Linked DNA regions of Homo sapiens: region 1 is linked to region 2. The links are contacts of gene promoters, found by promoter capture Hi-C in human tissues and cell types (Jung and others, 2019). All regions are on one chromosome and are shown on one strand. Each heading gives the region's core, a stretch centred on a gene start or on the middle of the fragment in contact. The rest is flanking DNA. Distances are from core to core; before and after follow the strand shown.

Evidence for each region. Contacts are between HindIII fragments. The study calls those that stand out against the background at their distance.
Region 1: the fragment with the promoter of ADAMTSL5 here is called in contact with the fragment with the promoter of ONECUT3 in region 2 in 2 of the 25 tissues and cell types used here (heart right ventricle and lymphoblastoid cells).

What each region holds. Positions count from the first base shown.
Region 1 is chr19:1,510,353-1,514,562 of GRCh38, reverse strand. ADAMTSL5 (ADAMTS like 5) reads left to right here and starts at 1,544. Exons shown (of 12, transcript NM_213604.3): 1 at 1,544-1,600; 2 at 3,403-3,718; 3 at 3,833-3,924; 4 at 4,135-4,195. The coding sequence starts at 3,620. RefSeq lists silencers at 431-510, 1,350-1,719. The HindIII fragment of the contact is 17,964 bases long and covers 1-4,210 here.
Region 2 is chr19:1,750,629-1,754,952 of GRCh38, reverse strand. ONECUT3 (one cut homeobox 3) reads right to left here and starts at 1,447. Exons shown (of 2, transcript NM_001080488.2): 1 at 99-1,447. The coding sequence starts at 1,290. The HindIII fragment of the contact is 24,245 bases long and covers 1-4,324 here.

The DNA of each region.
Region 1 (4,210 bases), core at 295-2,794, 240 kb after region 2:
GCTGGCTTCAAACTCCTGACCTCAGGTGATCCGCCTGCCTCGGCCTCCCACAGTGCTGGGATTCCAGGCATGAGGCGCCGCGCCCGGCCTGCCCTTCTCTCTTGACCCCTTCAGTGAGGGCCTTCTTGACATCCCCGCAACCACCACCCCCCAACCTGGGGCCATCAGTGGTGGGCCTGGGCTATTTTCTCCAATAGTCCAGGTCAGAAGGTGGGGGGTCATACATTCCAGGGGGCTGCCTTACCCGCTGGCCTGGGACTGGCTGGGTTGTTCACAGCTGTGCACACAGTAGGTGCTCAATAAATGGCATATGGGTGGCTCTGCTGACATGCTACAGGCTGGAGGGCAGACTGAGTTGGACCAGCAACACCCTGTATGTCCCCAGCAAACCTCTCTCCCTGTGGTCAGCGCTGTGGGACAGCAGGGTGGGCTTCCTGGAGGAGGGGGTGCTCAGACCGAGCCTGGGTGGAGCCCAGGGAGCAGGACAGTCCCTCCACCCCCTCCTTTAGTGCCCCAGTCCCTCAGCCCGCCCGCCAGGGGGCGCCGTGGGGCGACACCAGAAACTGGTGGAGCCCAGAACCCAGGGCCTGGTCTCATCCCTGCGTGGGTGGGCACGGGGCGGCTCACAGACGCCCGGCGGGAAAGGGTGGGGTGGGGGGAGTCCCGGGGTGCCCCCTCGCGTTGCCGGTCCGCGCAGAGCCGGATTCCAGATGGAAGGTTCGCGGTGGAGATCCCTGCCGGGCCCACTGCTGGGATGGGGAAACTGAGGCCGGAGAGGGTGTGGCCGCGGCTGTGAGGGAGAGGGACCGCCTGGACCCGGGTCTGGCTCTGAAGCCCCGCTGGCAGCCCCGGGGCCCGGCAGGGAGGGCGGGAGGCGGGGTGGGGCGCGTCCCCTGGTGACAGCAGCGCCCGGGAATGCGCCAGCTGGGAGGGTCTCTCCGCCCCCCGCGCGCGGCCCACGGGGCCGAGCCTCTCCCCAGTGCGCTGGGGCCCTGCGCTGGGGGTGACCGGGACCTGGGTCGGGGAACCCCCGGATGGGAGCCCAGGCGCGCCAGGGTCCCCATCCACGAGCAGGTCGACCCCCCGCGAGAGGGGTGAGGGGCAGGACCAGGGGAGGGGGCTGTGACCGGGGATGGGGACGCCGGTGGGACGCAATCCGGGCGTCGGCGGGGTAGGGGCAGCGCCCGGGACTCCCAGACCCAGGGCGGGGTGACCTCGGTTCGCGCACATTCCCGGGCCCTGAGCGCGGCGCCCGGAATAGCAGCCCCGGGGCAGAGGAGGGCGGTCAGTCCCCGCGCCGCGCCCCCGCCCGAGCCTGCCAAGGTCACCCGGACCCGGGCGCCCGACACCAGCCTGCGGCTCCGGGACCCCTGCGCTCGCGTCCGCCGGGCAGTCCCCTGCCGCAGATCCGCGCCCGCCGCGCGAGGGCGCCCGGGGCCGCCGCCCCTCCTGACCCGGGCCTGGGCGCGCCTGCGGAGGCCGCGGTGGGAGGGACCGTCCCAGGCTCCCCACCCCGCCCAGCACCTTGGGCCCCGCCGCTTCCGCTCGCCCTGGGGCCGCTCAGGGAGCCGGGACGCGCTGCCTGGGCTCCGCGCAGCCGGTAAGTCCATCTGCCTATCCTCCCACTTTCTCCGGGGGAAACTGAGGCCCAGAGGTGCGGCTTGCCTTGAGATCCCTCCGCCAGTCCGGGCTGCAGCCCACACGGGGAGGGGAGAGCCTTGATTCTGGGCAGGGCCCATTGAGGAGGGGGTAGGGTGGTCCTTGTAGCCCCCCACTTTTCACCACCTAGACCCCCACTCCTCAAACCAGGCTTAGAGTCCGGTGGGGGTGGTCAGAAGGTCAAGCCCCCTCCCCCTGTTTTTTTTGGTTGGTTGGTTGTTTTTGAGACTGAGTCTCACTATGTCGCCCAGGCTGGAGTGCATTGGCCCCATCTCGGCTCACTGCAACCTCCGCCTCCTGGGTTCAAGCGATTCTCCTGCCTTAGCCTCCCAAGTAGCTGGGATTACAGGTGTGCACCACCACACCGGGCTAATTTTTGTGTTTTAGTACAGATGGGGTTTTACCATGTTGGTCAGGCTGGTCCCAAACTTCTGACCTCAGGTGATCCGCCTGTCTTGGCCTCCCAAAGTGCTGGGATTACAGGCGTGAGCCACCGCACCTGGCCCCCCTCCCCTTGTTTTAAGTTTCTGGTGCAGACTTCTTCCTGCTTCCTGGGCCAGCCCAGGCTCTAGGCTCAGAGAGGGGCACGGATGCAGCAGACCACACAGCTGTCTCAGTACCTAGAGATACCCAGGACCCTAGACCCTTGGTGCCTCAGAAGTCCAAATGCTGGAGCCAGGGAAACAGGGTCCAGGTGGGACCCAGCCTCTTCCCCAGCTGGTGCCCGGGCCGGGGCTCACCCACCTGCCTTCAGGCTCTGCTGGCAGCAGGACGCCCTGGCTCACTTGGCGGCTGCTTCCCTTCCCCCCTCTTTCCCCCTGCAGGCTGGGGTCATGAGGAGGGTGTGGATGGCAAGTGACTTCATCCCTGCCCTGACAGGATGGAGAAACTAAGGCCCAGAGAGGCAGTCAGCCTCCTCCCCTTCCCTGCTCCAGCCTCAGCAGTGGCCCCTTCCCTCCACGGGCTGCCCCGGAGCTCAGTCCCACCCCCTCCGCCGATGAGGCCATGAGGCACCGAACGGACCTGGGCCAGGTCACCCCCTCCCTGTCCCATCCCCAATCCGGGGGACTCCCTGCTGTCTGGGAGCTGAGGGAGCCCTGGGGCCGGGGTGCAGCTGAGGGCCTCTTCTAGGGACCCAACTCCTGATCCAGCCCCTGCCGGCCGCACCTTCCGCAGGGTGTCACAGAATCATGGACTGAGTCCACTTGGCCCCCACTGCACAGATGGGGAAACTGAGGCCTGGGAGAGTGGAGTGGCTGGCCTCAGGCCACACGGAAAGGTAGAAGCAGTGATGGTGGGGAGGGCGGGGAGGGGGCCCCAGCCCTAGGAGGCACCTGTGTACTATTTTTGAATGATCCCTCCAATCATCAAGCATCGATTAAGCACCTACTGTCTGCATTATAGCACAATACACATATCAATAATATTGTAGGCTGGGTGCAGTGGCTCATGCCTATAATCCTAGCACTTTGGGAGGCCAAAGCAGGTGGATCACTTCAGGTCAGAAGGTTGAGACCAACCTGGCCAAGATGGTGAAACCCTGTCTCCACTAAAACGGCAAAAATTAGTCCGGCGTGGTGGCAGGCACCTGTAATCCTAGCTTCTCGGGATGCTGAGGCAGGAGAATTACTTGAACCGGGGAGGGTTGCAGTGAGCCGAGATCGCACCCCTGCACTCCAGCCTGGGCGACAGAGCGAGACTCCGTCTCAAAAACAAACTAACTAACAACAATAATAATTGCAGATGACATTCTGAGTTCTTCCTCTCCATACCGGGCTCCACGTCTCCTGTCTTCTTTACCTGATCCACAGGACCCCTCAACTTTCCTGTAAGGGAGGCTCTATTACCCCGTTTTTCAGAGACGAGAGGTAGGGCTCAGAGAGGTTTAGTTACTTTCCAAGATCACACAGCCAGTCAGGGCAGAGCCGGGACACAACCCTGTGTCTCTGGCGGTGGCTCTATGGACTCGGCCCCTCTGTTCCCCAGGCCCCACCTCTTCCAGAACCTCCTGCTCTTCCTGTGGGCCCTGCTGAACTGTGGTTTGGGGGTCAGTGCTCAGGTAAGGGGGGGCATGAGCCCAGGGGGTGGCGAGTGGGAATGGGGACCCAGTCAGCAGTGTGGGGTCACCAGCGTCCCCCTACAAGGCTGACCGTGCCTCTGTCTCCCCAAGTAGGGTCCGGGCGAGTGGACCCCGTGGGTGTCCTGGACCCGCTGCTCCAGCTCCTGCGGGCGTGGCGTCTCTGTGCGCAGCCGGCGCTGCCTCCGGTGAGCGGGGCCCGGAGGGGGTCCCTGCCCCTCCTCCCCCGCCGGCCCAGCCCGGCCCCTGGCCGCACCCTCGGCCTGCCCACACATGCTGTGCCCTTTAATCCCCCTGATCCCGCTGGAATGCGGGTGGGGTTGGCGGGGGCGGAGGGTGGAAGGCCAGCCCTGGGAGGGGGTCCCTGGGGGTTCTCGCCACACTCTGTCTCCCTTCAGGCTTCCTGGGGAAGAACCGTGCTGGGGAGACTCCCATGAGTACCGCCTCTGCCAGTTGCCAGTAAGCCCTGCCCAC
Region 2 (4,324 bases), core at 198-2,697:
TGGGGCGCTGGCCCCGGGCATCGGCCGCCGCCCCGCTAGGTGCTCGGGAGTCCAGAGCCGGCGCCCCCAGGGTCTGGCCCTGCGCGCCACGCTCCTACCTGCCAAGCGCAGCGCCGACATGCGCTGGAACTCTGGCTCCTGCAGCCACTTCCACATCCTGCGGAAGGTCTCGCGGCCGGATTTGAGCTTGCTCCACGGCTTGGGGTTGCGCAGCAGGTCGGAGAGCGTGCCCTGAGAGCGACACAGGATCCGCTGCGCGAAGATTGCCTGCGGGATGCTGTAGCGCTTCAGCTCCGCCGTGATGCGCTGCGCCACCTCCTTGGTGTTGATCTCCTCGGCCGCTGCGCCCGCGCTGGGGCCGCCGCCGCTCCCGCCGGGGCCGCCGCCTCCCCCGTGCGGCCCGTGCGCCCCGGCCGCCGCCAGCCCGCCCAGCGGCGCCAGCAGCCCCGCGGCGCTCCCGCTGCCCGCTCCGCCGCTGCCTGTGCCGCCGCCGCCTCCGGGCAGCCCGCGGGCCAGTGCGTCCTCCGCGCGTCCCAGCAGCGCGGCGTGCGGCTCGAAGGCGGCGGGCGGCAGCAGCTTGTCCCCAGCCAGGTGGCCTGGCGGGCCGTAGGCGGCCAGCGGCGGGGGTGGTGGCGGCGGCGGGGGCTGCGGGGCGCCGTGCAGCGCGGGCGGCAGCGCGTTGGGCAGCGGCGACAGCGGCGACCCCATGGCGGGCAGCTCCTTGCCGTAGGGTCCGTAGAGGTGGCCCACGGAGGCGAGCGCCGCCCGCTCGTCGCGCATGAGGGTGAAGCTGCCGCTCACGCTGGCCGCCAGACGCTGCGGCGGGGGTGGCGGGGGCGGCGCGGCCGCCGGGTGCGGGTGCGCGTGGGGATGGCCGCCGTGCGCCCCGGCCACGGCCGCGGCCGCCGCGTGCTGGTGGAACTTGTCGGCCACGGCCGCGAGCGGCGGCAGGTGCTGCAGGGGCGTGAGCGTCGTGTAGGTGCCGCCCAGGCCCGGCGCCTCGCAGGCCATGCCCATTGCCGGGTGCAGCGGGCCCGCCAGTTCCCCGCGGAAGTCCGCGCCGCCGCCCGCGCTGCCCGCGCCGCCCGCGCCCCCGGCGCCCCCACCGCCGCCGCCGCCGCCGCCGTCCAGCAGGCTCGCCATGCCGGCCACCAGGCCCGGGCGCCCGGGCGCCACCAGGCCGCGGTGCTGCGCCGCCGCCGAGCGCGCGTGGCCCGGGCTCAGCAGCTCGCCCGCCTGCGCGTGGGCCACGCTGTGCAGGCCCCCCAGGCTCTCCAGGCTCAGCTCCATGCTCGGCTGCCCTCCCGCCGCGCGCGCTCCTCAGCGCCGGCCCCTAGTGCTCAAGGCCGCTGCATGACTCCCGCCCGCTCCCCGGTGGCTGCGCGCGAGGCTGCCAGGCTGCGCGGCGCACGGCCCGGCCCGGCTGCGAGCGCGGCCACCAGGATGTGGCAGGGGAGCGGCCGCCGGCGCCCGGGCCCGGGTCTGACGTCAGCGCCCCCGCCCACCCGCTCCTGCCACCGCTGCCTCCCGCAGCCTCGCTCTCCGCCCGCCCCGGCCCCACTCGAGCACCAAGCAGGCCGAAGTCGGCCAGACTTGGGGCTTCGGCGTCCCTGGCCACTGCGCCCGCCCGCGCCCGCTGGGGCAGGCCGTACCCGGGGGACAGCGGGCGGGGGTCCGAGGACAGACTCTGCCCAGGTGGGGCTGGGGGCCTCGACCCAGAGTCTCCGATTTCGCGTCTCTGTGTGATTCTCTCCAGAGTCCCAGATGTGGCTTTCTGCCTGGCACCCCCAAGTCCATCTCCAGGGAGTTTCTGGGAGTGTGGCTGGACGGTCGCCTGTAATGTACGTGTCCCCCCCCCCCCCCGTTCCCTACAGACCCCCAGGAGCTAGATCCCCACTGCAAGCTCAGCTTCCCCCGACTCCCACTCACACCTACGGAGTCACAGCCCCCTTCCCACAACCTCTTTGTGGAGGAAGTGGGGGAAAAGGGAGGTCCTAAGGCTAGGTCAGGGCCTCCGTGCGCCCCAGGGGTCAGCCTCTGCCCATGTGTGGGCACCTGGGCCTCCGTTTCCCCAACTGTACAATGGGCTGCCCGGCCTCGGGGTTGCCAAAGGCCCCTTCTAATTGCAGGGCCTTTTTACAGTGCGGCCGCTGGAGGCACTGGAGCCTGGGGGTGACCACTAAGAGCCCCTGTCACCCTCCAGCCCACGGAGGCTGAGGCTGGATCCCCTGTCTTCTGAGACGTCGCTGGTGCAAACTCCTCTTTGTCCCTGGGGCTTCTCTTCAATGTGGGGGGAGGCAGGGGTCTCCTTTTTCTCAGCACCTGGAGACAGGTGAGCCCCAGGGGCCCCTGGGAACTGGGATAGATGGGGGAAGGGCTCCTATAATCAGAGAGACCCCCAGGGGACTAGATCCCGCCAGTGGGGTAAGGTCAGGGCTGCGGATCTGGAGGGGCCAGACCAGAATCTAGAGGATGCTCTGTCTTGTAGGCCAGAGGCTACGGTGCAGAGTCCAAAACCAGCCTCAGCCCCTTCCTGCTTCCCCGTTGCCTCTGCCCCCCCCACCCCCGGGGTAACGCTTGTGCACTTTCTAGAAGAGGAAGGGGATGGGTCAGGCAGTCGGTTCGCGGGAGCCCCCAGTTACCCCCATCTCAGAGGGTTGCATCAGGGCTCAAAGCTGAAGGAAGAGGGGAGGACACAGTCAGGCTGTCACTTCCCCTTTGGTGCAAACCTTCTGGGCAAACCCCGGCCCCAGCTTTGCACCTGCATCCAGATTTCCTGGCCCCTGTAGACGTGGCTACACATTGGAGATGCGATTTTCTGAACCAAGACTAGGTTGGCTCTGGAATAGGGCCCTTTCTGTGCCTCAGTTTCCCCTTCTCTGGTGTGGGAGGGGGTGCCCTCCAGCCTGCCCAGCTGGGAGCCGGAGGTGAGTCTATGCTGACCACAACAGCCAGAGAGAGAGGGGGCCTGAATGATCTGGGCCCCCAGCCTGAGGTGGCCTGATCCAAGTCCTGGGGAGGGATAGGGCTGAAGGGGACCCCTGTTAGTACTCGCTGCTTAGGGCTCGGCATTTAGTAAGTGCCTGTTATTTACCAGGCATACTCTCCTCTCTCAGCCCCAGAGAGGGGGAAGTCAAATCACAATTTTTCCGGGTGTCTCTGGCCCAAGGTGGGGGGGTGGTGGCCCTAGAGTTCCCCCCTTCATTCCTACATCTGCCCAAGTGCTAACTCCTGCCCCCTGAAGTGTCGGTCCCTAAACTTTCCAGTTCCAGGGTTCAGGTATAATTTCTGGAGTTTACATAATTACACCCATCTTCCAGGTGGGAAGAGAGGGGCAGGTCCGAACAGTCGCGTACCCCACTCCCCGTGCAGATGCTGAATCTCGGCGGGGGGGATGTGGCTGCACAGAGCCCCAGCCTGCGCTCCTCATTCTCACCCTCCAACAATCACAGATAATTAAAAATAATCGTGAGATCTAAAAATCAATCAGCCGCCATAAAACGCTAGCATCCCAGGCTCAAGAAGCGCAGACCAGGTGGGGGCTGGGGGTCTCTACGGGTGGGAGGATAACAAGGTGGAAGGAAGTTCCCCCAAATGCCAATGTGGGGGAGCTCCTAGGGAGCTGGGATTTTGCAGGCTTCCTTTTAAATATATTTTTTACAGCTTGATGATCGTGTTCATTTTAATAGCAAGCGTGTGTGGCTTTTCTAGCAGGGAAAGCATCCATTTTGAAAGAGAAGACGAGGGTCAGGGACTCCGAGAGGAAGAGGGCCTCTCCCCTCTGCTGCCTCAGGACACGCTAAGGTGGCCACAGACCCCTTCCAAAGCTCCCTAGACTTGGAAGGGGCAGCCCAGCCTGGTGGACCTAACCCTATCCAGGTCTGCGAAGCCCCTCACCCCTCCCTTCGGCTGATGGACACTTGGACTCCCCCAGGGATGGGGATCTCACTCCTTGTAGAGGCTGTGGTCCCGTTGAGAGATTGAACAGAATTTTGCTGGCCCCAAGAGAGGGACTGTGGCCCCCTGGAGCCCCCAGCTTGCTTCTCCCCACCAGCAGCAGCCTTTTAGTAATTAGTAAAATAGAATTGAGCCGGCCACCGGGTAGGCTGGCTGCCCAGGCCCAGATCGATCCTGGGTCATTAGGCAAATTGTGGGCAGGGGGAGGGGTGGGCTGGATCGGGACAAGAAGTCCCCCTTCCCCACCCCACAGGGACCTCAGCCACCTCGAGGAAGCTCTCTGGCCTCAGTATCCCCTCCAGGAAGATGAAAGTTTGACTCCCAGAGCCCGAGTCTGTGTCTGGGAGTTGGGGAGGGGGACCTCAGC